Linked DNA regions of Homo sapiens: regions 1, 3 and 4 are each linked to region 2. Evidence: promoter capture Hi-C in 16 types of primary human blood cells and fetal thymus (Javierre and others, 2016). All regions are on one chromosome and are shown on one strand. The core of a region is centred on a gene start or on the middle of the fragment in contact, and the rest is flanking DNA. Distances in the headings are between cores, read along the strand shown.

Region 1 (5,771 bases), core at 2,297-4,796, 660 kb before region 2:
TATACTTGTGCCCTCAGCCCTGTGCTAAGCACCCTCACCCCCCACCAAGGCCTTGACTGTTTTCTAATTGTTGGATGGCAAGTAACTCGGCAGCCACTTCTGAACTGTCAGTCAGCCCCAGACTGCTATAAAATTGCTTAATGATATTTGGGTTCTTTGGGAGTTGTTGAAGTGTGGAGCTGTAATGAAGCAGCCACTGGCTGCCTAGTGAAGGAGAGGGTCAAGAAGTGGGTCAACCATGGAGGCCAAGGACTTGGCTCCCAGACTGGGGGAGGTGGCTCAGAGCTCCGCCTCCAGGTTCAAGGGATTCTCCTGCCTCAACCTCCTGAGTAGCTGGGATTACAGGGATGCACCATCATGCCCAGCTACTTTTTGTATTTTTAGTAGAGACAGGATTTCACCATGTTGGTCAGGCTGGTCTCGAACTCCTGACCTCAGGTAATCCGCCTGCCTTGGCCTCCCAAAGTGCTGGGATTGCAGGCATGAGCCACCGCGCCCGGACTGGATCCCATATTGGACACTGGGCTGCAGAGTTCTAGATTCCGTATGTCTCCTCAGGTAGAATCTCCACACTGCAGCCTCTGGCCAGAGGATGTAAAAGATCCAGACAGACCTGGCTTTCTGGCTGCTGCATAACAGCATGTTCATTTGAACGAGTGGCTTGAGCATGCCAGACCTGGGTCTTTCTCATCTGTAAATAGAGTAGTACATCTATCTCAGAGATATGTTATAAGAACTCAGCAAATTGCTGAAGCCCAAGTCACAGATGCATAATGAGTGAGTGTCAATTACTATTCTCATTAGTAGCAGTAGTACTCTTACAAAAGTCAGTTACAAATCTCAGAGACCATAGGTCTATATTGTAAGTGATGACTTGCGGATGTTGTAGAAGAGTTGGGAGTGATGTTTGGGATCATCCCATCCCAGCCATTCACTAAACTAGGAAGCTGAGGCCAGAAAGCAGGACAGAGCAGACTCCCCATACCCAACCTCCTGCTCCCCAGCACTCCTCCACCTCAAGGACACATCTAGGCCTCAGCCATCACTGCAGTATAGTTTCCAGTGCAATGAAAATGCTACATCTTCTCTCTCCTTAAAAATATATAGTAGTAAATAATATGTCTTATATATTTAAAATACTCATTATCTCCTATAGGATCCTTGTCCTACATACCATACACATCACACACATATTCAGGCACAGCCTGAGGAGGTGGGTGTTCAGCTGTATTAAAAACAAAAGTTGTAAGAAAGAATAATAGTGTGAAATCAGTGCAGGACTATTTATGATTAATATCAGGAAGCCCTTGTTAAGAATGCCATGTATTCTTAGACTAAAATACCCTCTGCAGGGACATGGGGAAACCCCATGACTTGAGACACTTCTGCTGGGACAAGGCATGGCTAAGCACAAGAGAGGAACAAAGCACCCGCCGCCTCAGGGGACCATCAGAGACAAAGCTTGAGTCCCAGGCTCCTTTCTGAGTCAGGAGTGCATAGAGTGGTTGTTTGAGAACTGAGTGTGCCTCTGTGTGCAGTCGTGGGACCTCAGTGTCCAGCCTGCCCAGCAGAACAACAGGCTTAGAGACCAGGAGAGGCAATGACAGGTGTTCTGTCAAAACCGCCCAGCAGGGCAGCAAGACGCTAGTGCAATTACTGGGCTGCACATCAGGGAAATGTGGTGGACTTAGTGTCTCTGGATTTCTGTAAGGCATGTGACAAGGTGACACGAGGAAGCTTTTTGATCAATTTAAAGACAATAGGTTAAGATCTTCATGGGCTCCTCATAAAAGCCTTGGTAGTTTGTCAAGCAATCTTTCACAAAGGGGAAAGGGGCTGTGCAGCCTCTTTACCGGAATATGAAGCTGGATTTCGGTATTTTAACAGCACTAGGACATACGAAGGCTGCCTGTCAAACTCACTAATTAGATGGATCTGGAAGCCATTACAGATATATTGGATATTTAAAAACATCACCATCCCAAATGATTAACATAAATGAGAATTATGGACGTGGTAAGCCAGGATGAACTTTAGTGCAGAAACTGAAGATACACCCTTAGACTGAACAGCAATAATAGCAGCTGTCTGGCACTCGTTAGGAATTAAATGTTCGCTGGATGGATTCAGGGATGGGATTACTTAGTAGAACATATGAAAATGAATAAAAATTGAACCTAAACTCAGAGCGCATGAGAAGTGTGAAGATTCTGGCACATCGACTGCTGTGACCTCTGCCTGTGTGTCTGAAGGCCAGCGGTTAGAGTCCCGCAGGCGACGTCCCGTCCTGTGCAGTGGGCAGACCCTACCTGCAGGCTCAGGTGTACTCCTGGGCACCACAGTGGAGAAGGGACTCTGTAGATGGTTTGTGTCCTAACGTGAGTCATCTGAATGGTGACGCTACATCATACCACAATGATTGGAGGGCCCGGGGAGGTTTGGGCAGAGCAGAAGAACTGGGGTTAGGTGGTGCTAATGCTGTGTTGAAATGCTTTAAGTGCTGTCATGAGAAGCTAAGCCCTTTGCAGGCGAGACCTGGAGGGCAGAGGTAGGACAAATGGAGTGAGCGACAAAGGGCTCAACATAAGGAAGCTGTTTCTAATGGTCAGCGTTGACAGCAATGCAGTGGACTGCTTGTGAGCTCCCCATCACGCAAGTGTGCAGGCAGAGAGGCTGAACCGCTGCTTTCTGCGATGGCAGAAGGCGATATCACGTGGGCGTGCGGTCAGCAGGGCGCGTGCTCCCCCTCCTGTGGTGGAGCCTGGAGGCAGCCGCCCGCCGGCCGTGGCCGGTCCAGCAGAGGGCGCGCTCCGAGCCGCGCGGGCAGCGGGTGATGCAGGCAGGGGAAGCGCGGGCCAGGCAGGAAGCATACAGCGCAGGCCGCGCAAGGGCAGAGACGTCCTCACCTGGCCACCGCAGCCGCGCAGACCCCGCAGGTAGCCGCGGCGGAGCTGAGCGAAGGACATGGCGGTGCCCACGGGTGCCGGGGCCGCGCCGGAGTGCACTGGACCAGCCGGCCCCGCGCACCCTCCCCTTCTCCATGCAGTCCCCCAGGGGCGTGCAGCATCACCGCCCCGGGTTCTCACCTTCCCCTCCGCCTCTGGGGCTTTCCCTTGCACCTTTCTGGCGGGCCGCTCCTGGCCTGCCTGCCTCTCCCACGCTGGGCCTGCGCACACCCGCTCATCCTCGACCTAGGATGGAGAGATGGGCACACAGGCAGGGGCCCGAGGGCCTTTCTCGCCCTGCCCTGGGGAATCCGCCCTCAGGAATGGGCCGCGCGGGGCTCCGTGTGCATCTGTTGGTGTGTGATGAAGGGAAGCCCAACCTGCCCTGGTTACGAAAAACATATATTTTAGTGCCAAATCTCTCTGGTTTCCTGAGTGGCTTTTCACCTTCACACGTCATAGAGCGAACACTGCTCTACAGGGTTTTGTGGAGGGAGGGATGGCGCTGTTAGACTCAAATGCCTACTTCCCCTGGGGTTAGCAAATTCAGTAATCTTGGGCGATCTCCCCACAGTAGAAAAAGGTTAAAAAGTGGAAAAAAGAAAAAGACCACCACACTTGACCTTCCAGGGCCAAATCTCCGGTCTCTCAGTCACACCAGGCAGCCAACCTTTCACAGAGATACCGGGACATTGCTTGGGCACACTTCAGCTTTATGAAACAAGGACATTCCCCTCTATCCTCCTGCTAAAGTCCGCCCCGCCCCTCAGCCCCCTCACTTCTGCCACCGCCATATCCCCGCTAGACAGCTTCCGCTGACAAGCCAGCCTAGGGCCACCCTGCTTCGGAAGCGTGTGGGCCCTCCAGGCTTCCATCTGCGGACTGCACATCACAGGGAGGGAGTGTTCCGCACCAGGCAGGGTGAGTCCACAGTGGCTGCACCTGGGGCCAGAGGCCGAATGGGAGGGTGGAGTGCTTACGGTGCGCACCTTCTCCTGGTCAGGGGGCGGGGAGCCGGCTGATGCTGCCCCCGCGTCCCCAGCCACCTTTTGGCTTTCTGAGATGGTTAATTTTAGGTGTCAACGTGACTGCGGTGAGGATGCCCAGATGGCTGGTAAAACATTATTTGTGAGTGTGTCTGTAAGGGCGTTTCTGGAAGAGATGAGCATTTGAATCAGTGGACTGAGTAAGAAGGTCCACCCTCACCAATGTAGGTGGCACTGGTCAACCTGTTGGGGGCCCAGAGAGAACAATGGGGCAGAGGAAAGGTGAATTGTCTCTCTCTTCTGGAGCTAGGACATCCACCTTCTCCTGCCCTCAGACATCAGAGCTCCTGGTTCTGAGGCCTTTGGATTCTGGGACTTACACCAGTCCCCTTCCTCCCTGGATTTTAGGCCTTTGGACTGGCCTGGACCTGCTTCCAGCTTGTAGATGGCGTGGCCTGGAATTTCTCAGCATCCATAATTGAGTGAGCCAATTCTCACAACAGCTCTCCTCATCCAACTATATCTGTATATCCTATCGTTTCTGTTTCTGTGGAGAAATCTGGCTTGCTCTCTCTCCCTCTCTCTCTCTCTCCCTCCCCCCGCCACCTCCTTCCCTCCCTCCCCCTCTTTAATATAAAACCACGTGGATTACTCTTCCAAAGTCACTCTGATTATTTGGGCCATATGATCTTTTCAGTGGATAAACTGTCTGTTTATGATTGAAAGAGGCCACAATTCACAGGACTTTGCTTGTTACAAACTCACTTTATTTCATTTTTCTAGGCAGCCAGCAGCCCCAGATGAGCAGCAACACAACTCTTATTTGTACCTGGCTGAGCAGCACGGCCGCATATGCTTTGCCATTCCACTTCCCAATGGCAGAGCCATGTAAACTGGAGCCTGGACCAGGGGAGGGGAGATGCAGTCAGTGAGAGGGATCCAGGACAGGCCTCCAAAGCCAGCTGCCTGCCAGCAGGGTGGGGACACCCATGAAAATCCAAACTGCCCGCACGGCTTCCATCATAACAAGCTATCCCTGATTGTAACACTTGATTCTTGGAGGGAAAAAGAGCAAACAAATCACCCAGCTGCAAAACTATACTTTTAAACAAATTGTCAAGTAGACAGTTTGGAAGATTTCTGCCAACCATTCACTGGAAAAATGAGAAGAAAGCTGATGGGCCCCAGATTTTTTTTTTAATAGCAGAGTGTTCTTGTATGTGTTTGTGTTATGAAAATTTAGCCAAGCTAGGTAGGTTCACAGAGAAGGCTGCCACTCTGCTTCCCTGTCCCAGGTTGACACCTTTACTGTCTTTTCCTGTTTCTAGGCTTTATCTAATTACCATATTGCCAGCTGGTTGACTGAAACTATTATTAACATTGAAGTGATAGCAACCAAATATCAGCCAGGATGCTAAGCTTAACCCTGCCAGTTGCTTAGAGATCCAAAATGTTGGCGTGGGAATTAGCTTGTGATAATGAAAAACACAAAGTTGATATGTAACCAAAGCATCAATTGTTAATGAGCTCTGAGATGTCCCATGCTCCCATGGAAAGGATTGGCATATTCCCTTTTTCTGCAGTGGCCAAGTGCAAGCCAGAAGGTTGCTCGCCGTGCAAGGACTTAGGTCCAGGAGAGCTACTCACCTTGAGGACGCACTGCCCACTGGATGAACTATGCATGTTGTTCTGGTTCAGAGGCAGATAAGGGGACAATGGGAAAGGCTGAAAGGACAGCAGAGATAGAAACAGAAGATTCTGTTAACAACCATCCATGAGGGTTCAGGGGCTAATGGTCTTTGTGACCACTACCTAGGGTGGCAATATCTAGCAATCAGTG
Region 2 (6,650 bases), core at 112-2,611:
TGGAGACCAGCCTGGGCAGGATAATGAGACCCGATCTCTACAAAAAAAAGTTAAAATAATTTTTAAAAATTAGCCAGGCTTGGTGGTGCTTACCTGTAGTCCTAGTTATTTGGGAGGCTGAAGTGGGAGGATCCGTTGAGTCCAGGAGTTCAAAGTCACAGCAAGCTGTAATTGAGTCACTGTACTCCAGCCTGGGCAACAGAGCAAAATCTTGACTCAGAATTTTAAAAAAATTAAAAAATAATTTAGAGCACATACAAGAGGATTCCTAGGATCTGAAAGAGCACTTCAATCTGGTCAAACTCTCTTCCTTTCTGTTCAATTTTATAAGCATTCTGACCAGCTCTTTAGTGATTAGGAACTAGACAACTGTCTAATGTAAGAGCATACATTTTGGATCCAGAAAGTCTTGGATTTGAACCTTTGCTCCACTTTGACTCCTTATTTTCTGTGGGTTTCTGGGCAAGTTACTTAACCTAGTTGGAGTGCCTTGGGCTTGGAGTCCAGAGTAGGTCTTTCTTTTCCAAGAATTGACAAGTGTTTACACTTGGTCAGAACTGGTATTCTTGTATCTTCAAGAGCAAGAGAAAGGCGAGTCTGGGTCTGGAGCCTCCTAAGAATTGTTCAGTGGTAACAAATGGACTCTCTTGTTAAGTCTTTGTAACTACAGATAACTGGAGAGCTGATTGGCTCCAACCAATCATGAAGGCTGAAATGTTGTTTTCTTAGATTCTGAATTCCTCTGGGGCTTGGAGGGAAGAAAGTAGTAGGTGGTTAGGTGGGGAACCAAAATGGAAGATCCCAATTACATGCCAAGACCAAAGTGTAAACAGGAGTGACTATTAACTTGGGATTGGCAGGAAGAGATATATGTTTATGTGTTCTCTGCTTTCCCACATCCTGCTTCCTCCTAGACTCATTTGTGTGTGGTCCTGGTACCTTTGGGCCCATTTTGCAGTGATATTTTAGTAACTGACATTATGTCAAACAATCTAGGTTTCTTACATTCACTTATGTCTCAACAACTGTTGACTTTTTCCTTCTCACATATCAATTATTCTGCCCTTTCCTGTTTGTTTCTGTTTGTTTTTCTCCCTCAGGTGCTCAGGAACAGCCCATGGAAGAATCATATGAAGAGGTGGTGACTGAGGTCGTAAGCAGGAGTGGACATGTTTGGATTTCCAACAGCTACCCTGCTGGACTGTCATGGAAGATATGCCCAGAATGTAGCGTTCTTCAGTGAGTGAGTCAGTTGATGGCTGGATGCGCTCAGCTCACAGATATTCAGTGTCCCTGTTCTCAGCACTGGTCGGCAGTCTGAGGAAGCAGAGGAGACCTTGCTTTGGTAGAGCTTGCTGTTCCTAGGGTTATAAGAAAAGCCTGTGAGCTGGAGTTAGAAGTAATAGTAGAAACAGAGCAAGAGAACCATCTTGATATGGAGGTAGCGTTGAAGTAGTCTCTGAGAATGAATGAGCAGCTTAAATCTCAGCACTGTCTCTGAATAAGGCAAGGGAACAAGGAGAAGATTACCCTGGAGTGACAGACACCAAGAAAACTGTTAATGGTGATGAATGGACCCATATTTAAAGTGCACCAGGAGGCTCAGATGCAGGGCAGTATTCGGAAAAAAAAAAGTCAATATCTGCATAGAGAATAACTTCCAAACCAAAATTGATTTCAGTTTTGCCATAGCTTAGTAGACTGAAAATAGCAAGGATTTTAATGGGAAAAATTCCTTGGATCAGATTCTATAATTGCCATGGCTAGATCTGCAGTATCAGACAGGTTATTTAACTTCCTTAAGCTCCAGGTTCGTCTGTAAAATAGGACAATAAGTTCTATCTTGTAGGGTTGCAGGGATTAGCAATGATAGATGTAAAGTACCCAGGATTGTGCTACATATTTTCTGAGGTCATGGTGCTTATTCTATTGTCAGAACAGATTGGACAGAGGTGGATTTCTGAAGAAGCAAATGCAGCTTCAGTTTTAGGACCCCTCACTTGGATTGGTCTCTCCAAGACCCTGTGCTTAATTTTATACATTTTCTTAAAAGGGTGCCTCTAAAATGGGAAAGTTTTAGGCCTTATATAGCCTGGATCCACACCTGTTTTGGAGTCAGATAAAAGTTGGGTATGGGGCTCTGTGTGATTCTGTATAGTTTTCTAAATTTTCTGAGCCTGTTTTCTGACCTGTAAAATAGAGAAAACCATGTCTATCTTACAAGGTTATTTGTTGGCCTAAATTAAATTTAGAGGCAGTACACTGCTATGGAGAATGCCTATTTGAGTCAGCTCTAACTTACCTAGCTCTGTGACCTTTGACAGGCTCCCTTTGCTCCCATTATCTGTATCACTCTCATGGCATTGTTTTCAGGATTGCATTGTCTATGCAAAGAATAAGGCCTGGCACATCATAAGCACTCAAAGTATTATGTTTCTTTTTCCCTATTCTAACTCAGCATTATTGGTGCTTCTTATATGACTTCCCTCTCATTTTATCAGATGTGATGACTGAAGCCCACCACAAATATGACCACTCTGAGGCTACAGGATCCTCAAGCTGGGATATCCAAAATTCTTTCAGAAGAGAGAAGCTGGAACAAAAATCCCCAGATTCGAAGACACTACAGGAAGATTCACCTGGAGTGAGACAAAGGGTCTATGAGTGCCAGGAGTGTGGAAAATCCTTCCGGCAAAAAGGTAGTCTAACGTTACATGAGAGAATCCACACTGGTCAAAAGCCTTTTGAGTGCACCCACTGTGGAAAAAGCTTCAGGGCCAAAGGCAATCTTGTTACACATCAACGGATACACACGGGAGAGAAGCCTTATCAGTGCAAGGAGTGTGGGAAAAGCTTCAGTCAACGAGGTAGTCTCGCTGTCCACGAGAGACTCCACACTGGACAGAAACCCTACGAGTGTGCTATTTGTCAGAGAAGCTTCAGGAATCAGAGTAACCTTGCTGTTCACAGGAGAGTTCACAGTGGTGAGAAGCCCTATAGATGTGATCAGTGTGGAAAAGCCTTCAGTCAGAAAGGAAGCTTAATTGTTCACATCAGAGTCCACACAGGCCTGAAGCCCTATGCCTGTACCCAGTGCAGGAAGAGTTTCCACACCAGGGGGAATTGTATTCTGCATGGCAAAATCCACACAGGAGAGACACCCTATCTGTGCGGCCAGTGTGGAAAAAGCTTCACCCAGAGAGGGAGTCTGGCTGTGCACCAGCGAAGCTGCTCACAGAGGCTCACCCTTTGACCACTTTCCTGAAGAGAAGTTCTCTTTATGAATTAAGAGTACAAAATCCTCTGAGATGAAGCAACCTATCCAGTTCTATGGAATGAATGGAGAATCTTTCAGAAAGACCATCATTGGGTAGGGCAAACTGATTTTTTTCCTTTCCCCCAAAAGAGTATGAAAAATAAATGTCTTGTTTATTATCATTATCATGTATGTTTTATAATTTCTGTCACTTTATTCTGACCTGATTTTTCAAGGTACCCCCATTAATCTGGTGCCACACTAGAGATTGTTCTGTGTATACCCAATACAGATTTTAAATTTGTAGTTGACACCATCAGGCTTTTATAAATGTAAAAAATCAGCCCCTCATCAATCCCAAGTTATTTTTCTTCCTTACATATTCAAATTAATCTTGTTTTGCCTTCAAAACCACTGGGCAAAATCCATGGGGCAAATCTAGTTACCTTTATAATCTTCTTGTTGAACATTTCATTACCTGGATGATACCCCCAATAACCTATTGTAACTAATCACTCATGTCTATAGCAAGGGGCCTAGCCTTTTATTACAAAAGAAAATTTCTTTCCAAGCCTGCACAGCCTTAGTTTGTGCATTGAGACATACTTCAGTCCTCCACTCCTAACTAGGATAGAGATAATTCACCTGTAACCAAAGAGCAAACAACTACTGTCTGTGCAATTTTTAAAAATCTTTAACCCATTTCTCCCCATCTACTAAAGGGACTCCTACATTTTCAGAGACCTTCACTCCCTCTTTGGTAACAGCAGCAATATCTTGGGGTTGGGTTATCTAGAAAGGATATAAGTGTTATTACTGAACCCAGACTTGTAGTTTGTAGTCAATAATGAACTTCCACTTTCCAACAATACTATCCTCTTCCTCCTGCACACACACCAAGAAATTTGGAATTCTAACCCATCCTTTTTTCTGACCTCCAGGGGATGAGATTTGAAGAAGGCTGCAGAGGAGAAATTGGTTTTGAGGGGAAATTTCCATTTCCATTTTTTAAAATCTTAGCCATCTCTATAATTTTTCATACTGAGCATTTATGTAAGTGAAATGATGAATGATAGAGATTTTGGTTTTCTTGGTAAGACACCATTCCATCCTTTCTAGTGGATCCTATAAATCAGTGGTCCCCAACCTTTTTGGCACCAGGGACCAGTTTCATAAAGACAATTTTCCCACAGAGGGGGATGATTTTGGGATGATCCAAGCACATTACATTTATTGTGCACTTTATTATTATTACATTGAAGTATATAATGAAACAATTATAAGGTACTCACCATAAGGTAGAATCAGTGGGAGTCCTGAGCTTGTTTTCCTGCTACTAGACAGTCCCATCTAGGGGTGATGGGAGACAGTGACAGATCATAAGGCATTAAATTCTCATAAGGAGTGCACAACCTAGATCCGTTGCATGCACAGTTCACAATGGGGTTCACACTCTTATGAGAATCTAATGCTGCCACTATCTGACAGGAGGCAGAGCTCAGGTAGTAATGTGAGCAGCAGGCAGCAGCTGTAAATACAGATGAAGCTTCGCTTGCTCTCCCACCACTCACCTCCTGCTGTGTGCCCCAGTTCCTAACAGGCCACAGACTGGTACTGATCCATGGCCCAGGGTTGGGAACCCCCTGCTATAAATTATTGCTTCCTTAATCCCAAAAAGCTTGTAATAGTAAATCTTTACCATGTAGAGAGGTAAATTTCAAAGGTCTTTGAGCACTGAAACAATTTGGAAACACTGGATTCTAATAATACAAAAATATTCCAAAGATACCACAATAACATTTGAAGCTGTATACAAGAATGTTCATGTCATCTTCATTTATAATAGCCACACACTTAGAAATGTCCAACAATGGGTGAGGGATAAAGAAACTGTAGTATATCCATACAGTGAAATACAACTCAGCAATAAAAAAGAACATACACGTGGTACATCAACAATATGGATGAATCTGAAAGTTTTATTTGAGTTGAAGAAGCCAAATACACAAATAGTATAATTCCACTTATGTGCCTTCACAGAACAGGAAAAACTATGTGTGAGGATTGACTTGAAAGGCACGCAAGGGAAGTTTACAGAGTGAAAACAATGTTCTGTACCTGACATCAGGCAGTTGATGCAGGGGTCTAAACAATTACCAAAATTCATTGAACTCGATGCTTAAGATCCGTGCATTTTATTACATGTAAGATATACTTCAGTAACCATGAAACAGTATAAATGTATTGCCCACAAGCTCTTTGACACTCATCCCATGAAGAGATGGGGGGTATGTCACCACCACTTGAATCTGGACACGCTTGTGACTGCTTCAAACAATAGAACACAACAGAAATGATACTACACCAAGTATAGTTCTGAAAAGCCTCTAAAAGGTCTGAAAAATTTCTGCCTGGTTCTCTTGAGACACTTCCTCTCAGGTGAAACCAGCCCATGTAAAAAGTCCAGTTATCCTGAAATCACTGTCATGGACAAGCTGCATATAAATGCTCCAGCCAACAGTTTCAGCTGAGCTCCCAACAGCCTGCCAGCCATGTGTGAGGGTCATTGTAGGTTTCCGGCCCAGTAGAACCTTCACATGACTGCAGCCCCATCTGACATCTGGCCAAAACTGCATGACAGACTCCAAAGTGAGACTGCCTCACCTAATCCCTGACAAAATCATGAGAAAAATGAAACATTATGGTTGGATACCACTAAATTTTCAGGTAATTTGTTATGCAGCAATAATAGAATAACTTAAGTACTTTTTAAGGATAAGCCATTGTAAAATTTATATATAGGAAAAATCTGAGGCCAGGCACGATGGCTCACGCCTGTAATCCCAGCACTTTGGGAGGCCAAGGTGGGTGGATCACCTGAGGTCGGGAGTTCAAGACCAGCCTGACCAACATGGAGAAACTCTGTCTCTATTAAAGATACAAAATTAGCCAGGCATGGTGGCGCATGCCTATAATCCCAGCTACTTGGGAGGCTGAGGCAGAAGAGTCACTTGAACCCAGGACGCAGATGTCACAGTGAGCTGAGATTGCACCACTGCACTCCAGCCTGGGCAACAAGAACAAAAACTCTGTCTCAAAGAAAAAAAAAAAAAAGAAAAAGAAAAACCTGGGGAAGCAACTTGATATTACCTCACTGGCTAAATCAAAATAGGAAATTATGGTTTATGATTCATCAGAAAGCTTAAGGTTTAAAAATAAACATTCTCTTTGACAAAATAAGAGGCATGGTATAGGTTAGTTAACTGAGATCTAATCCAAGTTATAAAATGAAGAAGTAGATGCTGGACTCCAGCAGTACTGCACTATAAGAAATGTAAAAATATATGCCTATATGTATACTTATACTTTCAGAACCTCAAATATATATATGTGT
Region 3 (5,980 bases), core at 1,486-3,985, 760 kb before region 2:
GGAGGATATGGGAGGGATAATATTAGGAGAAATACCTAATGTAAGTGACGGGTTGATGGGTGCAGCAAACCACCATGGCACATGTATACCTATGTAACAAAACTGCACATTCTGCACCTGTAACCCAGAACTTATAGTATAATAACAATAAAAAAAAGTACATCCAAGAGCTGTGGATAATATCAAATATTCTAAGACACATGTAGTTAAAATCCTAGGAAAAGAGAAAAACAGTGGAATAGAAGAAATAGTTGCAGAAATAGCATCTAAGAATTTTCCGAAATTAATGACAGACACCAGACCACAAATCCAAGAAACTCACAAGACACAAGTAGGATAAACATGGAAACAACATAAAAGAAACAAACAAAATACACTTCAACATATATTCAAATCTCTGAAAACTAAAAGCAAAGAGAAAAATCTTGAAGGCAGAGAAAAATGACACATTGCCTAAGGAGAAACAAGGGTAAGAATTACAACAGACTTCTTGTCCGAAACAATAACAATGGAGTGATATATTTAAAGTGTTGAAAGAAAAAAACCATTGGCCCAGAATTCTATAGCCAGTGAAAATATCCTCCAAAAATTAAAAAAAAAAAAGACATTCACAGGCAAATGAAAACAGACATAATTCATCCCAGCTGACTCCCTCCACAAAAAATCTTTAAAGGGACTTATTCAGGAAGAGGGAATATGGCATTGGTTAGAAAACTGTATCTACACAAAGAAATGAAGAGTGTTGGAAATGGAAAAAGTGAAGGTAAAATTCTCTTTTTTTCTTATTTTAAATTGCTCTAAAAGATAGCCAAAAATTTAAAACAGTAATGGTAACAATAGATTGTATATTCATAACTTATGTAAAAGTAAAATAAGTGACAACAGTGGCACAAAAGATAGGAGCAACAATTGGGAAGAAAGCTGTTCGCACTAGATGTGAAGTGATTTAACAGTACCTGAAGGTAAACTCAGATTATTTCAAAATGTATATTTCAAACCCTAGGGCAATCTCTAAATATATATATATATATATATATATATATATATATTACACACACACATATATACACACACATATATACACACACACACATATGTGTGTCTGTGTGTGTGTGTAACAAGTAAATAGAACAGATGAAATAGACTAGGCAAAGATTTATTTCAACTTAATCTAAGCAGGCAAGGTAGGGATGAGCACTGCAAGGAATGGGAAGAACCACTGGGTTAAATTCCAGTGTATTGTGTGGAATCAGTGTCCACAACTACCTAATTTGTCCATAGCTTGTGCAAAAATCAGCTCTTCCTTTTGTTACTAGAAAAGTCCACCCATAGAATGAATTCTCCGAATAATTTCCTTGATCTTTCAGTTCTATCACTAATCCTCCAAGTCAATAGTGGTCAAGCAGTTTCATCAAAAACACTAGGCAAATTTGGTAAAAGTTTGTTGACCAAAGCAAAACCTAAATGATGTGGGATATTTATTAATGACAAACTACCATATGCCTTATATTGTATATTACACTGATGGCTTTTATCTTTTTAATCCATCTTCTACTTCTAAACAATAAAAAATTACCAAGCAGAGAAACAGACATGTACAAAATTATCTTCTTACTGATGCAACATTCACTTCTTTAAACTGATTAATTCATTGATCACTCATGACAATGAAGAAAAAGAGGGAGGGAGAAAATAAAGTGATTTCTCCATCAGGGTTGTCAGAATTATTGAAATAGAAACTCAAAGTACTCTTATCAAATTTGGAATAGCAATTTCCTTTAGAAAAAAATGGGTATTTATTCATCAGGAGACTTTATCAACAGGAGAAATCATGAACATATGGCCAAGGCATTGACTCCCTTATAATGAGAATTTGGAATTCTGGTTGCCATGTAAGCCATGTCCAAATTTAAATAACTTCACCAAAAGAAGGAAATTTCTCAAGAGAAACCAAACTGAAAGCACTAAAATACAACCATGCAACTGTAAATTTTCGCATGGAAACCACTTCTCCAGATGGCTGGGGCTCTTGAGTACAGTGTCATTGCTCCAGAGGCTAATTTACTGTCTATATGAACTTGAAAATGGTTCTTCTTCAGTGAAAGTTAAAGTTTCCATCCTCAACATTGGCCATTAATTATGTTTTCCAAGGAATTTCTGGTCTTTTTTAATAAAAAATCAATATCAGAAGAAGTACACACTAAATGTTTTAAATGCTTGCTTTAAAGAAATAATGTTTTATTTTTATTAAATAAAGCTTTTTTTAATCTAAAAATGTATGAAGAGATACAATGAAAATGAAAGCTAACCAAAGGGCCACAGTGTCCAAACTGGGTACTTCTAACAAAGGAGGTATTCCATGTGGCTGCACAAGTGCCTATGGCCCAGCTGCTGGCAATGGTGATGGGAATTCAGAGGCTGATCATAATTGTCTTATCTTTGCTGCAGAGTAGAGGCTTCCACTCCCTCATTCAGCCCTGCACACTGTTGAGAAAAGCCCCCACAAACATGCCCTGAGCACTCCCTGCCTGCCACACACTGGGCTAGGTGCTAGAGCCCCGACCTTGAAAATGAAACTACTCTTGTTTCAAAGAGATACCATCCCGGAGAAGAGGACAGATTGATTTAGAGGTGACAAAGGATGGCATTTCAAGTAAATGTCAACAAGCCTCCTGCCCAGTTACTTCTCAAATGAACCAAAATAACTCAATATAGACAAAAGGAAAAATAATCACCTACATGGAACTAGGAAAGTCTTACCTCATTCCAAGTTCTCTGAAGACTAACCCTCAGATACACCCCAGTTGAAATTGAGCTCAGAGACACAAGGTCAGCACAGTCAGCCACCCCAGTGGGGCTGTGTTGCGGGGCTGACAGAAAGGCACTCTGAATGTCCAGTATCCCCCAGCATGGAGTAGGGAGGCCCAGAAGCTCGACCTGATTTGGGCCAGGAGAGTAAATCCCCTATTGTAGTTTCTTCCACGGGCGTGGACAGCAAGACTGAAGCAGAAACTTTTTATCCAACAGGGGATGGGCTGAGGTCAGGAGACATCTAACTTCATTGTAATAGGCAACAGGTGACTCTATTGGGAAAAATACACTGAAGTCAAATCACAGAAAGTTCAGAGCCACGGGCAATTTTCTAATCTGACTTCTCACCAAGGTGCCAAATGTTATACAACATCGTATCTAATTTCACCATGTGAAGCTTAAAATCAACATTTTGGTGTAAAAACGACATTCTTGCTTCTTAATTACTGGTGATGTTTTTTAGGAGGCAGAACACAGACTCTAGTTCAAAAGACAGAAACATTAAAAACCAAGGAAGCTTTCAAGTAGAAACACCAAAGCTAGGTCTTACAGTGTATATCTTATGCAATAAATATGAGTGTATAAGCCTAACCCAAAGGAGAAGGGACATCAGTCAGGACCAAAACAAAATAACCTAATTCCAGGTTACTTGTATTCTACAAAATATGAAATTAAAATAAAGGAACTTAGAAAGACTGAAAGCAGAATGAAGAGCAAAAATATTCCAATTCAATGTAAACAAATAGAAAGCTGAGTATCAATATTATACACAGTTACATTCATGACCAAAAAATATTGAAATTGTGTTCAATATAAAAAATATTGTATTTGACATAAATGTTCAACATAAAATATAAAATATTTTATAATATTTATTGCTTGATTGATTTAAAGATATAGCTGTCAAGAACCTTTATTTACTATATAGCATCATAGCATTAATAAATGTAGCAAAAACTGGAACAAATAAAAGGATAAATTTGACAAAGCACAAAATCATTGGAAGACTTCAGTGTAGCTCTCTCACTCAATCCTGTATGTCAAGAAATTAAGGAAGAGTGAAACAGAGAATCCAAATAATTCCATTAATAGATTGATCATATATATAACACACACATATATTCATATAAACATGTATGACATTTTATATATGTCCCCATGCCTTGTGTACAGAAAATGTGTATCCTTTTCTATTGTTCACAAAGAAAACCTCAAACTCAAAAGAAAAAGAAAAATAACAAAAACCACCTTCTTTAACATCAATAAAGGAAAACTAAAAATGCAAAACAAAATTTACTAATTGCAATAATAACACAGAACAATTCTGAACTTTTAAAAGCTCTTCCCTAAACAATACTTCAGTGAGAGAAAAACTGAAAGTCCCTCATGGAATTTCCTTAAAATCAATATTCCTTTTCATAATCTTTGGAATACTATTAAAGCTGTGTTCATAGAAAAATATATAGCCATTAATATTTTCAGTAAAAATATGAACCAATAAAAACAAATGAACTAGGTATTTTACATAATAATTCTTTTGATTAAGGTCACTAAAAAGAATATTAAAAATAGAATCACAGTGACAACAGAAAAGCCTCATACAATTGACCATGACATGAAAGGTATGTCTTTGGTGGCGGAGGAGAATGGAATAGAATGAAACAAAATGGAGTGCAACAAAATATTAATTCGCCCAGTCAAGGAAAACAAAAACAAGTAAAAGAAAAAGAAAGCAAGGAGAGAGAAAGGGGGAGGGAAGGAGGCAGGGGGCAAAGAAACAGAGTATGAGAAAGTACAAATAACCAGAGTACGAAAAAGAAGAAAACAGAATTACTTAAACATATCAATGACTCTGAAAACCTGAATGAAAAGCCGTTTTCTAGGAACATGCAAATGATCGAAATGGACTCAAGAAGAGATAGGAATGCCTAAATGGCAAATCAAACAGTTGTAAAAGAACTACAGCCCTCAAAAGCACTGGCTTCAGTGTTTTCAGGATGGGGTTTTTCAAATGCTGAATTCTGTTTAAACTGACCAAGAGCAAGAATGTTGGGGGAGGGGAGAGTCTGTAGATTCTTCTTTGGAAAGCTAATAGAATTCTGACATCAAAACCAAAAAAAGTTGCACAGAAAAAGGAAACTCCAGATAGCTCTCACAAACGCTGAGCATTGATCCTAAGTTAAATATTATCATAAATAAGAATAAAGAAATAAGAAGTGTGAAATGCACCTGTGTCAGTCAGCTTTGTGAATATCTTGCTTGGTCACTGGACCAAGCTACATTTCTGAAGCTGAGTGTGGGACTTCTCTGAAGGGAATGGATGGTCCTACTCAATATTGCGAAGCAGGAAGGAGCATTCAGGATGGGGCAGAGAGTTTGGGGGCTTGAACACCAAAACGTGGACAAACTTGGAACTTTTGTAGAGCTTGGATTTGGGAGGGAGATAGCAGATGGCTGGGGCAGAGACCACAGGGCAGGTCTGGGCCTTAGAGGTTGCAGACTCTTTAGTGAATTATTCTGCACCTCTATCATCTGGAACTCTCATAGAAGTGGAGGCAGAGAGAGCTGATGCCTGCTCCCAGGGGTGTAATGCAGAATGAGGACTGTGTTCACACTCGGGGACAGGAGTTCAGGGACAGTGCAGGTGGCCACCAGGGGTTCTGGGGGAGAATGGCGCAGGATCACTGGCTCACCAGGAGCCTGGTTGAGCATACAAGGACTTGAGATTGAACCTGGATGGCTGGGAGGCACTTTGGGAAAAAAAAAGGATAAAAAATGAAAACATAAAAACAGTATCAAAGAGAACTGTGCCGTGTTCTACTCTTTACCAAGACACTTTCCAACTTTCAGGCTGTTTTTTTATCAAGGTTCCAACAGTGACCACCCCCAGGGGCATGCCTCAGGCAGGCTGGGGGTTAGGGAGCCCACCCTTCCCCACTGGGCTCCCACACCGCATTGTCACTGGTCACTAAACAAGCCACTTGCCAGACCCCAGCCACTTACCTGAACCAAGCCTGTCCTTTTGCTAGGCTTTCTAACCTGAAGTGCTTTATTGGGGCCTGTGGGTCCAGCCCAGCTAGGGAACACCCCAGTGCCCTGCAGAAAGTGGTTTGTGTGAATGATGCAGAAAACCAAGAAGGTTACAAGGCAGAGCGTGATTGATTCCCTG
Region 4 (6,698 bases), core at 140-2,639, 790 kb before region 2:
CCAAAGTGAACCTGAAAATGCAAAGTACTAATTCCTGAATGTTGTAAGACATTGTTCTCTCAAAATATAAAAACAAGAAGTAAAACTTCTTGTCTGAAAATAATGCTGACAAAGCAACAAGTTCTCCCAATCTGAATGCCTCATCCTCTCACCAAAGTGACATGTGAGTGATTCTGTGGGGAAAAAAAAAAGGCATTGGAATATTGCAGAGCATGAAAGGCCACACAGCAGGGGAGCAGCTCCTAGAACATATTATATTTCAGGGGCATCTGCTTCCTGTGTTTTTGATTACATTAAAGTATTTCATTTTCTTCCCCAAGACATCCCAAATGCCTTGTGTGCCAAAACTCCTCAAGGGGCTATGCGTGTTTGGTAATGAGTTAAGTCCATGACAATCCCAGAAAGAATCATGGACTGGGGCAGAGCCCTGGGGCGCAGGGGTACCAGGCCAGGTTCTGGCCCCAGAGCTCACAGGACTTCACGGGGCATCAGAGCAAGTTCTCCAGGGAAGGCTGCCCTGTGGCCACTCCCATTCTTGGTGCCGGGACATGCTGGCCTGGTTTCCTGCTCATCACTTTACTTCAGCACTTACCAAAAGGTCTCATAAATGGTGGCTTACATCTAAAACTAGTGTGTAAGCCAGCAGTTAAAATTTTCTTTTCATATGAAGACAATGTAAGGATGCAGGAAAAACAGTTTATGGGTTCTCTCTATCTCTCGGCAGAATGTCATTTTTATCTTATATATATATTACCTGCAACCATGTATAAGCATTCTTTTATTAATTCCATGTTAACAGAGAGATTTTCCTTCTGGCTACAGTATTCCCAGCCTTGATGCAGAAGGCCAGCGGTGGGCCATGTCATGAAGCTGGGAGGAACCCCCAGGGCCCATCAGCTCCTCCAGTACCAGCCAGGCCCTGGGTTTAGGTGATAAATAAGTCACATGAGGTCCCTGCCCGGAAGTTTATATTTCCAGAAGGAGAAACAGACAATAAATAAGTGAATAAATTGACCATTTCAGGTCCTGATAAATAATATGAATGGAAGGAAGCTTGCTGTGTTCAGGGAGCAGGAGAGGACATGGCCAGGGACACCAGGTCCGGAGGTGTGGGAAGGCCTCTCTGAGGGAACGTACTTGAGCGATGTGAGGGAGACACCCTGAGAAGAGCCTGGAAGGCTGTCCAGGAAGGAGTGGAGTCAATGCAAAGGTCCTGGAGTGAGAAAAAACAGCTTCATGTTATAGGAATCTCACAGTCAGTGTAGCTGGAACAGGGCAAGTGAAGGCATGGCAGGAGGTGGTCAGGGCCTTACAGGCCACGGTGTTGGGATTGGATTTTCTTCTGGAAGGGACAGGAAACTACAGGTGGTTTGGAGTAGAAGCACATGGAGATCATAACCCCAAGCACTATGGGAAGTAGGGTAGGCAGCAGTAGGAGCTCCTGGGTGGGAAGGCCAAACAGGAAGATGGCAGTGCCCTCCGTGAGATGCGGACCCTGTCTAGGTAGAACAGGGCTGTGGGGATGGGGCAGTTCTGGGGTAGGAACCAACATTTTGGTATTAGACATGCCACTTCTGCAGATGTTCCTTTAGAGAGGAGCAGAGAAGTGGGATGGTGGTTGCAGGAGGGATGCGGAGTCAAGATGACCCTGAGAAGACCTGCACGGGGGCCATCCAGGAAGGAGTAGGGTCAGGAACAAGGTCCTGAGGCAGGAAACAAGCTTCATATTCCTATTTTTAAAGACCAAGCTTTCACTGCAAGCTGATGTGCTGTTGGAAAGATGCAGTGGCAAGGGAAAACCTGCTGATGCTGGTGATAGAAGTGATTGTTGCAGGAGCAGTCAGAGGTCTACACTCGAACCTTAAGGAGCAGGACTCTACTTTATGCCACTTTATTTCTCCAGCATGAACAGAGTGCTGAGGAAGCAAGAGCCAGCACATGAGACCCAGCCTAAGGGTCCCTGGAGAGCTTCCTGGGAGAGGTAAAATCATGCTGAGAAGGGCAGGCCCAGCAGCAGCTTGCCAGTGTCAGGAGGGAAAAGATGCTCCAGGCAAAGACAGCTCATGTTCAAAGGCCAATGCACATGAGAAAGAGCTGGGCATGGTTGGCCACAGGTGCACAAGGATGCTGGGAGCTGAGGTGGAGGGGAGGGGAGGACCAAGTGAGGCTTGCAGGCTGTACCAGCAGGTCGGATTTTATCACTAGACAGATCACCCTAGCAGCAGCAGGGATTACCTCTGACTTGAGAGGCAGGGGACAGGGGTAAGGCAAACACTGGTGGGAGGGATGGCCTTGGAGAGGCAGCGCCAGGTATCCACAGGTGAGGGTGGGCCAGGAGACAAGAGGGCACCAAGAGCAGATTAACTGCACTCAGAGGCAGCTTCAACCAGCTGGATAAGTAGGGAAGATACAGCAAAGGATGGGCCTGGGGTTTGGGTGACAGTGGTGGATGAGGCTACTCATTGAGAAAGGGCACTTCATGGGAAGGATGATGGGGCTGAGGGTGCCAAGGCAGCAGTCAGATCCCTGAGCACACTAGCCCGGAGGCCACAGATGCAGGGGAAGAACAAGTGGCTAGGACAGGGATGGAGCCTTCCATCCCAGGGCCTCTGCAGGGAATTGGCAGTCTGCTGCCTCTTCTCTGGTATATAAAGGCAGGTGAGATATGTGGATTCCCGTTTCTCCCTCAAGAACCATGAAAATCCTATGAATGTTATTTGAGAGACATTGCATTTTCTTCCTAGAAAGTGGGGACCCCAGCTATGCCTTGGAAAGATCTCTCTCACTGCTAAGGGAAGGTGCCCTGGAGGAGGGAGCCTGGGGACGAGGGGTACACAGGCAGGTGGTCATTAAAATAATGCAGGAAGGAAGCCATGAGGCTAAACCAGGCAGAGGGCAGGAGGGCAGCAAGGAGGGAAAGAGCTCTCGCTGTGGCAGAGGATGCATGATCAGGATTTGGTGAAAAGTGAGGCAAGGGGAAGAGGGAAGAGCCAGATTCTAACGTTTAGGTTCTGGCGGCCAAGGCATGATAGTGCCATTGAAATGTGAGTTCAATATCCCTGCAGCTACCGGAACCAGGGTGCAGAGCAAAGCAGAAGCCAAGTGAAGTTGATGAGCAAGCAGATCTGGACAGAAGCTGGTGTGTCCAGTCTAGTCCCAGCTTGTCAAGGACATGCATCACCACTGCTTCTCTCAGTCCACAGAGGTTCTCACCTCGGATCCATCTATGCTTTGGGGACACTGGACAGTGACCCGAGTGGAAAAAGAAACATCTCTTTTGACTCCTCGAGCTGATTCCCCACTTGGGGGTAGGAAGGTGAAATACCTGAGACTTTGCAACAAGCGAGGCTGAGGCCACAGGAGGCTGAGGCTGAAAGCCCCGGCCTTCAGGGCTACTTTAGAGGAGTGAAGAGCAAATGTGTCTGTTGGTCCCAAAGAGCAGAGGTCCCTGGGGGCCCTGCCAGTGATGTGGGCAGAGAACAGGTGGCGTGGAGCTCCTGTCTCTGCCTCTGTCTTAGTTGGCTCAAAGTCCCAAAGAACTGGAGACCCTGGTCAGGAAAACTGCATTATCAGGGTACCCACTTCCCCTTCTCCTGCACCTCCCCAGCCTAAGACTCTACAGAAGAAAGGACAGATGATCAGAACCCTGGAAAAATGGCAGATAGGAGGCAGGACTAACTTGCAGCTCCCACTCGGTTGGACAGAGCAGTGTATGGAGACTCACATCGTGAACTTTTGCTCCAAGAACTACCATAGCAACATACCCGGAAAGCGGAGAGAATCCACAGACCCTCTGAAGGAAGTGGATTGCTGCTGCAGGTGCCCAGAGACAGCCAAAAAACCCTGAAGACAAAGGACATAATCTCTTCAGAGCTCTAGGGCCCTGCCCACCACCTGATCCTCCCTATACTATGGCAGCTAATGCACTCTTGAAATTGTCACCTCCTGGCTGGAAGCCAACCAACACAAAAATGGTGCAATAAACAAAACTACAACCAAGGACCCTTGCAGAGTCCTCTTCACTCCCCTGCTACGTCCACTGAAGCAAGTGCTGGTATCCACAACTGAGAGACCTGGAGACAGTTCAGTTCACATTATAGGACTCAGTGCAGACCCTCCCCAATACCAGACCAGAGACTGGTAGCTCCATTAGGTGGCTAGATCCTAAGGAGAAACCAAAATCACTCCAGTTAAGCTCTCAGGAAGCCCTATCCCTAGGGTAAAGGGGAGAGCACCACATCCAAGGAGCACCCCATGGGACAAAAAAAAAATATGAACAGCAGCCCTTGAGCCCCAGATCTTCCTTCTGAAATAGCCTACCCAAATAAGAAAGAGTCAGAAGAACAATTCTGGTAATATGACAAAACAAGGTTCTTTAACATGCCCAAAAGATCACACTAGCTCACCAGCAACAGAGCCAAACCAAGGAGAAATCTCTGAATTGCCAGAAAAAGAATTCAGAAAGTCAATTATTAAGCTATTCAAGGAGGCACCAGAGAAATGTGAAGTCCAACTTTAATGAAATTTAAACAAAAACAAAAACAAACAAAACTTATACAAGCTACAAAGGGAAAAATCTTAAGTGAAATAGAAAGCATAAATAAAAAACAATCACAACTTCTACAAATGAAGGACACACTTAGAGAAATGCAAAATACATTGGAAAGTCTCAGCAATAAAATTAAGCAAGCACAAGACAGAACTTCACAGTTCAAAGGCAAGGCTTTTGAAATAACTCAATCCAACAAAGACAAAGGAAAAGAATCTTAAAAGATGAACAAAGGCTCCAAGAAGTTTGGGATTATGTTAAACCTAAGAATAATTAGTGTTCCCTAGGAAGAAGAGAAATATAAAAGTTTGGAAAACATATTTGAGGGAATAATAGAGGAAAACTTACCCTTGCTTAGCTAGATATCTAGACATCCAAATACAAGAAGCTCAAAGAACACCTGGGAAATTTATCACAAAAAGATAACCATCCAGGCAAATAGTCATCAGGTTATCTAAAGTCAAGATGAAAGAAAGAATCTTAAGAGCTGTGAGGCAAAAGCACCAGGTAACCTATAAAGGAAAACCTATGAGATTAACAGTAGATTTCTCAGCAGAAATCCTCCAGTGAGAAGGGATTGGGGCCTTATCTTTGACTCCTTAAACAAAATAATTATCAGCCAAGAATTTTGTATCCAGCAAAACTAAGCTTCAGAAATAAGGGAAAGGTGCAGTCTTTTTCGGACAAACAAATACTGAGAGAATTCCCAGTACCAAACCAGCACTACAAGAACTGCTAAAAGAAGCTCTAAATCTTGAAACAAATCCTGGAAATAAGCCAAAATAGAACCTACTTAGCCATAAATCTCACAGGATCTATAAAACAAAACACAATGAAAAAGACAACAAACAACGTGTTCAGGCAACAAATAGCATGATGAATAGAATAGTACTTCACATCTCAATACTAACAGTTGAATGTAAATGGCTTAAATGCTCCACTTAAAAGACACAGAATGGTAGAATGTATTATAATTCACCAACCAAGTATCTGCTGTCTTCAAGAGACTCACCTAACACATGAAGACTCACATAAACTTAAGGTAAAGGGGTGGAAAAACATATTCTATGCAAATGAACACCAAAAGTGAGCAGGAGTAGCTATTCTTATGTCACACAAAGCAGATTTTGAAGCAACAACAGTTTAGAAAGACAAAGATGACATTATATGATGATAACAGGATTTGTTCAACAGGAAAATATCACAAGCCTAAATATATATGCACCTAACACTGGAGCTCCCAAATTTATAAAACAATTACTACCAGACCTAAGAAATGAGATAGACAGCAACACAAGAATAGTGGGGGACTTTAGTATTCCACTGACAGCACTAGACAGGCCACCAAGACAGAAAGTCAACAAAGAAACAATGGATTTAAACTATACCTTAGAACAAATGAACTTAACAGATATTTACAGAACATTCTAACAACTGCAGAATATACATTCTATTTATCAGCACATGGAATATTCTCCAAGATAGACCATATGATAGTCCACAAAACAAGCCTCAATAAATTCTTAAAAATTGAAATTGTATCAAGTACTCTCTCAGACCACAGTGGAATAAAACTGGAAATCAACTCCAAAATGAACCTTCAAAACCATGCAAATACATGGAATAAAGATGGAAATTAAATAATTCTTTGAACTGAATGATAGTAGTGACACAACCTACCAAAACCTCTTGGATATGGCAAAGGTGCTGCTAAGAGGAAAGTTCATAGACTTAAATGCTTACATCAAAAAGTCTGAAAGAGCACAAATAAACAATCTAAGGTCACACTACAAGGAACTAGAGAAAAAAGAACAAACCAAACTAAGCAGAAGAAAACAAATAACAAAAATCAGAGCAGAACCAAATGAAATTGAAACAAAATAAATACAAAAGATAAATGAAACAAAAAGCTGGTTCTTTGAAAAGATAAATAAAGTTGATAGATGATTAGTGAGGTTAACCAAGAAAAGAAGAGAGAAGATCCAAATAACCTCAATTAGAAATGGGGCTAATCACAGGGTCAGGAGTTCCAGACCAGCCTGGCCAACACAGTGAAAACTCGTCTCTACTAAAAATACAAAAAATAGCTAGGCGTGGTCATGGGCACCTGTAATCCCAGCTACTCAGGAGGCTGAGGCAGGAGAATCAC

Evidence for each region. Contacts are between HindIII fragments. The CHiCAGO score rates a contact against its expected background, and 5 or more counts as called.
Region 1: a fragment that was not itself captured here is called in contact with the fragment with the promoter of ZNF32-AS2 in region 2 in 2 of 17 cell types (megakaryocytes and total CD8 T cells); the score reaches 6.2 in megakaryocytes.
Region 3: a fragment that was not itself captured here is called in contact with the fragment with the promoter of ZNF32-AS2 in region 2 in 1 of 17 cell types (megakaryocytes); the score reaches 5.1 in megakaryocytes.
Region 4: a fragment that was not itself captured here is called in contact with the fragment with the promoter of ZNF32-AS2 in region 2 in 1 of 17 cell types (M0 macrophages); the score reaches 5.5 in M0 macrophages.

Annotation. Positions count from the first base shown.
Region 1 is chr10:44,308,215-44,313,985 of GRCh38, reverse strand. All of the region lies in intron 1 of LOC124902544 (a long non-coding RNA gene), which reads left to right. Among named protein-coding and RNA genes, the nearest start is that of LINC02881, 18 kb to the right of the region's middle. RefSeq lists enhancers at 1,220-1,389, 2,669-3,171 and silencers at 2,758-3,087, 3,932-4,101. The HindIII fragment of the contact is 3,613 bases long and covers 1,740-5,352 here.
Region 2 is chr10:43,640,653-43,647,302 of GRCh38, reverse strand. It overlaps ZNF32-AS2 (ZNF32 antisense RNA 2), which reads right to left and starts at 1,361. Exons shown (of 3, transcript NR_047558.1): 1 at 1,006-1,361; 2 at 94-191. ZNF32 (zinc finger protein 32) reads left to right here. Exons shown (of 3, transcript NM_006973.3): 2 at 1,101-1,239; 3 at 2,502-3,441. The coding sequence starts at 1,170. The coding sequence ends at 3,253. The region is part of intron 1 of ZNF32-AS3 (ZNF32 antisense RNA 3); the gene reads right to left. ZNF32-AS1 (ZNF32 antisense RNA 1) reads right to left here and starts at 3,431. Exons shown (of 2, transcript NR_047557.1): 1 at 3,196-3,431; 2 at 2,256-2,453. RefSeq lists an enhancer at 468-1,667. The HindIII fragment of the contact is 3,514 bases long and covers 1-2,771 here.
Region 3 is chr10:44,399,573-44,405,552 of GRCh38, reverse strand. It overlaps LOC107984179 (a long non-coding RNA gene), which reads right to left. Exons shown (of 3, transcript XR_001747298.2): 3 at 3,705-5,980. Among named protein-coding and RNA genes, the nearest start is that of CXCL12, 17 kb to the right of the region's middle. RefSeq lists enhancers at 4,509-5,252, 5,253-5,980. The HindIII fragment of the contact is 951 bases long and covers 2,260-3,210 here.
Region 4 is chr10:44,431,821-44,438,518 of GRCh38, reverse strand. No RefSeq gene overlaps it. Among named protein-coding and RNA genes, the nearest start is that of CXCL12, 50 kb to the right of the region's middle. The HindIII fragment of the contact is 667 bases long and covers 1,056-1,722 here.